Regions from separate parts of the Homo sapiens genome. Here region 1 is linked to region 2. Evidence: promoter capture Hi-C in 16 types of primary human blood cells and fetal thymus (Javierre and others, 2016). All regions are on one chromosome and are shown on one strand. The core of a region is centred on a gene start or on the middle of the fragment in contact, and the rest is flanking DNA. Distances in the headings are between cores, read along the strand shown.

What was found. The method cuts DNA at HindIII sites, captures the fragments that hold promoters and counts their contacts. A CHiCAGO score of 5 or more calls a contact.
Region 1: a contact is called between a fragment that was not itself captured here and the fragment with the promoter of RASD2 in region 2, in 6 of 17 cell types (endothelial precursors, M1 macrophages, M0 macrophages and 3 more). The highest score is 9.8, in endothelial precursors.

Annotation. Positions count from the first base shown.
Region 1 is chr22:35,434,412-35,437,425 of GRCh38, reverse strand. It overlaps a transcript of MCM5 not described here. Among named protein-coding and RNA genes, the nearest start is that of MCM5, 36 kb to the right of the region's middle. RefSeq lists an enhancer at 1,783-2,284. The HindIII fragment of the contact is 2,268 bases long and covers 547-2,814 here.
Region 2 is chr22:35,539,372-35,542,089 of GRCh38, reverse strand. It overlaps RASD2 (RASD family member 2), which reads right to left and starts at 1,259. Exons shown (of 3, transcript NM_014310.4): 1 at 590-1,259. RefSeq lists enhancers at 909-1,471, 1,472-2,034, 2,035-2,597 and a silencer at 1,568-1,787. The HindIII fragment of the contact is 7,504 bases long and covers 1-2,718 here.

The sequences.
Region 1 (3,014 bases), core at 431-2,930, 110 kb after region 2:
CATGGCATGATGATGGCTGCTGGCCCACCCAACTCTTGTTATGCCACCCCACAATCCTGTAGAAAGTGAGAGAACCTCTCTCTTTTGGTGTCCATGAATCAAATCTCAAAGACTGATTGGCCCAGCCTGAGTCACCTGCCCACCAGGAGCCAATCCTTAGGCCAGGGGATGGGGCATTCTGATTGGCCAGTCCAGTCACATGACCAAAGAAACCCAGTATGTTCGGGGCACTGCCCATTCCCTAGGCCTAAGCCCTGGTCAATTCCCAGCCATGGGCACTTCCTGTAAGGGGGAGGGGAGGAGAGCCCAGCATCCTCCTGGGGCTGTTCTGCATGCAGGTGTCAACTGATCACCTGCCCAGAAGTCAGAAGTTTGTGGCTGTGTTCAGAGAAATTTCTGGAGGATCCAGGCCAATGGCCTCCTCATGTCCTCTGAAGGAGGTGGCCCTAGTGACGCGAGGCTGAGTCTTGGGACCCCTCTCCATCTGGCTTTGTGAAGTCACCCTTCCATCCTCATCTGCGAACTGACTCTCCCCCTGGCAAAGCTTGGGTTTCTAGGCCCACAGATAAACGTCTTTTCTACCCACCCCATAATCCCAAGGGCACTTTGCCAGCCCCTTCTCATTTGTTTGTGAAGGTCGGGTGGGGATATGATTACAGCCAGGCTGCCTTCCTAGGACAGGGTCCTGACCCAGAATGGCCTGTGGCCCTGCCCCAATGGGTTTGGACATGGGAAGGTGATGCAGGGGCAGAAAGCCAGGGCTGGGGAGAGCTGAGCAGCTCTGCACAAGAGTGAAGGGGGGAATTGAGGGGGAGAGGGCACGAAGCCAGGGAGATGGAAAAAGGCCAGAAGCCCCGGCCCATGAGATGTGCAGGGTGCAGTGGGCGCTGGCAAAGGAGTAGAAACAGCAGGGCCCCCTCATAGAAAACGTGAAGCCCCCAGGTGCCCCTTCTGCCCAGCTTTCAATAAAGCCTTGCACATAAGAGAGGGCTTTGGTGGAAACTGAGGAAGGGGCTGAACTCCAAGCCTGGATGCTGTCACATGTAACAGCGTGTGGAGGTAGTGGCGAGGCCTGGAAGCTGCGGAAGGTCAGAGAAGCAGGAGCATGAAGCCTCTGGGGCCCATGCGGTCTGTGGGTGGGGAGGCTGTTAAGAGCTGGATCCAGGCCGGGGAGGGCAGGGGTCCCAAACACCATCTTGGACCCATCGGGGCTAGCCATTTTCCCTCCATTTTCTTTTTTTCTTTTTTTTTTTTTTTTTTTGAGACTGAGTTTTGCTCTTGTTGCCCAGGCTGGAGTGCAGTGGTGCGATCTCAGTTCACAACCTCTGCTTCCCAGGTTCAAGCGATTCTCCTGCCTCAGCCTCCCGAGTAGCTGGGATTACAGGCATGCACCACCATGCCCAGCTAATTTTTGTATTGTTAGTAGAGATGGGGTTTCTCCATGTTGATCAGGCTGGTCTTGAACTCCCGACCTCAGGTGATCCGCCCGCCTCGGCCTCCCAAAGTGCTGGGATTACAGGCGTGAGCCACCGCGCCCGGCCATTTCCTTCCATTTTCATTCAACTGGGGGAAGCACAGCAAAAAATACCCTCTCCTTTTCCCTCTCAAGCAGACATGCCCGAGAGGTTGCCCAGCAGGCCTGCAGCAGATGCAGGACTAGAACCCAGGCCTCCGCCTCCAAGGCCAAGTTAGGGAGGCTGGCAGGGGGTGCCTACTGGGTCTCCCCCTCCCTCTGCCTGCCCCTCCTGGCCAGGGTTGTGTCCCACTCAGACCCACTGTGCCAAGGCTTCAGGCGACAAGCCCACAGGACAAAGGCTGCAGCAGGAAGACCCGGGAACAAAGCTGCTGCTGTGTAGACCAAGTTCAAAAATAAGCCAGACTCCCCGAGAGTCTGGTCACCATAGCAACGGGGGAGTTGTTCTGCAGAAGCCTCCTCACTGAAAGGCCCGGTGGCCACCACCTTCTTCCTCCCCTCCCTGAGGAATCAAGTCCCACCAGCACCAGGAGGAGCCTCTGGTGTCTTCACACATGCACATGCTGTCCCACCAAGTCCCCATCGAGGCCCCACCGCGGCCCTGAGAGACAGCCAGGGTCATTGTCACTCTGCACACTGGACCCCTGGGGTTCTGAGACAGAGGTCCTCACCAGGGTCACACACAGCTCAGGTCTGTCTGCCTCCAGGTCCAGCAATGCACAGCAAATTGGGAGGCCTGTATTCAAACTCCCATCTCTCTCCCTGCCTCCCAGCCTCCTCCTCATTCCTTTTTGTTTGTTTGAGATGGAGTCTTGCTCTGTCGCCCAGGCTGGAGTGTAGTGGTGCTATCCCAGCTCACTGCAACCTCCACCTCCCGGGTTCAAGCAATTCTCCTGCCTCAGCCTCCTGAGTAACTGGGACTACAGGCACCTGCCACCATACCCAGCTAATTTTTGTATTTTAGTAGAGATGGGGTTTTGCCACGTTGGCCAGGCTGGTCTTGAACTCCTGACCTCAAGTGATCCACCCACCTCGACCTTCCAAAGTGCTGGGATTACAGGCGTGAGCCACCGCGCCCTGCCTCCTCATTCCTCTGTGCCTCAGTTTCCCCCTCCCACCCAAAGCATTGTCGGGGTAAAGATGGGGACAGTTGTGCGTCCTTCCCAGGCTATTAGTGGTGAACAGGCATGATCACCCATGAGCAGGAACTGTGGGACTCTTGTCATAATCTCCTGTCCTCAGTGTTTCATTACAGCAGTGTCCCGTGTGGCATTCACTAATAGTTCCTCCTTGTGGGGTAAAGGTGTTGTCAGACAGGCTGTGGTAGGAATGCCCAAGCTTTCTCATCCCACTTCTGGAGATAGGCCCTTTCCCGCCTGGTCACAAAAGCAGGAAATGATCTGGACCTGACCAATTGATCTTGGCATCTCATCTCTCTGGCCACTGTGATTGGTCCAGGAGATAATGACTGGCCCAAGCACAGCCAATCAGAGAGCTCCCCTGGGACCGATAAATGGATACTGAGAGAAAAAAGCTCTTT
Region 2 (2,718 bases), core at 10-2,509:
AGGGCACAGAGAGGCCTCCAGAGCTGCCTTCCGGGCCCTCCAAGACAGCTAAGTTACAGGAAACCCCTCCTGGGAAGGGAATCATCCAGGAAACTCACTCTGCACCAACCCAGAAAAAGCTCAAGAACTCTGGATAACGAAGGAGCTTCTTAATCTTCCTTCCCCACCTCCAGGTAATGCAGGCTGCAGCCAGCTCCAGAAGAGGGACAGGAGTGTTTGTGGTAGTTGACTCGTCTTCCCTGAGCCCCCGTTTCCTCCTATTTAAATGGGCTATTACTCTAGCTCTTTAAATGCAAAGCCTGTGGCACCAAAACTAGCACATAGTAGAAGCTCAATAAATCTTTCTTTCCTGGGATTAAGTCAAGGGTATAGCACTCAGTTTGACACATACAGTAGGTGCTCAACGAATTTAATTCTCTCTAGGTATGCAAAGTTGCCAGACGATCCCGGCACATAGTAGGTGCTCAATCAATTTCACTTTCTCTGGTCATCTAAGGAATCACTGAGCTTTCCTCCTCCAAGCCTCTACCCTTTCTTCCCGGCTGCTCCACTTCCCCCAGATGCCCAGCTCTGTTGGGGCGTCTCCTACCTGGGAATGGCGGGCCGGGCCTCTGGCACGGCTCAGAGAGCTGCCTGGAAGCGCCGGGAGCTGCGGGGAGCTGCCTGCTGCTCCAGCCGCCGAGCCTCCCAGAGTCTGTGGTGGCTCCCGGGTCACTGCGCGGGGATCCTCCCCTGCGCTGCTCGGGACGCCGGGCTGGGCGCGGCCGGGCAAGGAGGCGCAAGGGGCAGGTGCCCCATGGGTGGGCTCCGAGGGCTCGGCGGGGCCCGGGCAGGGGGCGGGCTCCGGCTCGCCGCCGCCGGCCCTGCCCTGCCCCGAGCCGGGGGCCTCCTGCTGAGCCAGGTGCCCGGAGGCTTGGGGACGTCCGATCCGGGGGTCCCCGCCTGGGGCTCTCGGGCTGGGGGCAGAGAGGTAGGGGCGACTCCAGTGATGAAGGAGCAGCTCCTAGAGACTTGGGGAGGGGGGGTCCTTTGGAGGTGACTGTGGGTGCGTGTCCCAGGTGGGCGAACCCTCCTGGTCGCCTATGCCACCTTCTCCGCCTGCCCCAAAGGGGGTCGCTCGGATGGGGGGTATCGGGCTGCCGGGCTCGGCCGCGGCCTCCTTCTCTGCCCGCGGCTCTGCAGCTCTCCCAGCGCCGGAGGGACGGCTTCTTTCTCCCCGCGCGGCGACGCCAGCAGCTGAAGGAGGAGCAGGGCGCTCTGCTCTGCGCGCGTGTGGGAGGGGGCCTTGAACGCCGCCCCAAGGTTTCGCAGCTCCAAGTTAGCATCAACCCGGCTCCTCCTCCTTCACCTCCTCCTGTCCCCAGATGAGGAGAACTTTGTGTGTGGCCCTGGGTTCTCCCTCCTTCCCCCTCTCGCAGGCAGATGCCCCACTGTCACCCGCAGGGCGAAGAGGTCGCTGATCCCTCCGAAAGGTGGCAGAACCCCAGGCTCCTGATGACGGTCCCAGCGGCACCCTCCCGCGCCCCTGCGAGCGTCGCCCACCTGCTCCTTCGGCCCCCCGCGAGCCGCGCCTCCCGCCGCCCAGCGCCAGCGTCTGCCCCCCAGAGCCCGCTCGCCCCGCCCCACCCCGGCGCCCCGCCTCGCCCCGGCGCCCGGCCAATGGGAGGCGGGTCCCGCGGCCCGGCCCCGCCCATCCCTTTCGCGGCCTCCGGGGCGCCGCGGTCTGCGGTTCCGCGTGTCCGGGCGCGTGGGGCCGGGGCCGCTGGGCGCGCGCACCTTGCCCAGAAGGCGGCCCGGGCCTCGGAGGCTGACGTCTGCGCACGCGCTCACACGCACGCCCGGCCTGGCCGCAGGTGACCCGCATGGGGTCCGGCCGCCTGCCCACTCGGCCGGGGTCTCCAGCGGCTTGCGCCCGGCCAGGTCGAGCGCGCCACGGTTCCAGCGCCCTCCTCCTTCGCGGAAGTCCCCGGGTGCCCTCCCAGGTGTCCAACCTGCCTGTCCCAGCCGCCGCCTCCCTCCCGAGCTCACGGTGCCCACGGGACCCTGCGGACTGGCACATGGGCCATGCACGTGTCGCCCAGAGGGGCGGGGAGTCACCTAGGCTTAGTAGCCAGAGGTCTTCGAGGCATGCGAGTCTCAGAGACCACGGCCGACGGGGACACACCAGGTGCCTTGAGCATTGCGTCTCCTGCCTGCATTCTCCCTCCCCACCTTTAAATGAGGGGCTTGACCTAGGCCAGACATCGGGCCTTCTCACTGGGCCATATCTCCACACCACTTATTACTTAATATATTTTTTAAAATATCAGATCCACTTTCCCCACCCCTTAAACACGTTTTTTTAGAGAATCATTATATCACTGCCTTAAATGGGAAATCAGTATCACTTGCCATAAATAGAAAGTAAGAGTTAAAATAAGCACAGTGAAAACAAAGCAAGGTTATTAAATTCCAGCTGGAAACCGTGGCCTGCCAAGGCTTGAGATGTGTGCCCTCAGTGAAAAAGGGAGATTGGCAAGGTTTGGAGAGGTGTTAAATACCCATTAGCACCTAACAGAGACTTTCTCCTTCACATATCAGGAGGCTTAAAAGAGAATGTTCTCGTTGTGTGATACAGCAAAGGGATGGGATGCTGTGTCTGTGTCCCTCAGTTCCAGATCCCTGGACCTCAGGGATGTCTGCCAGCCTCACCCCCAACCCAGATCTGGCCTCCCTACC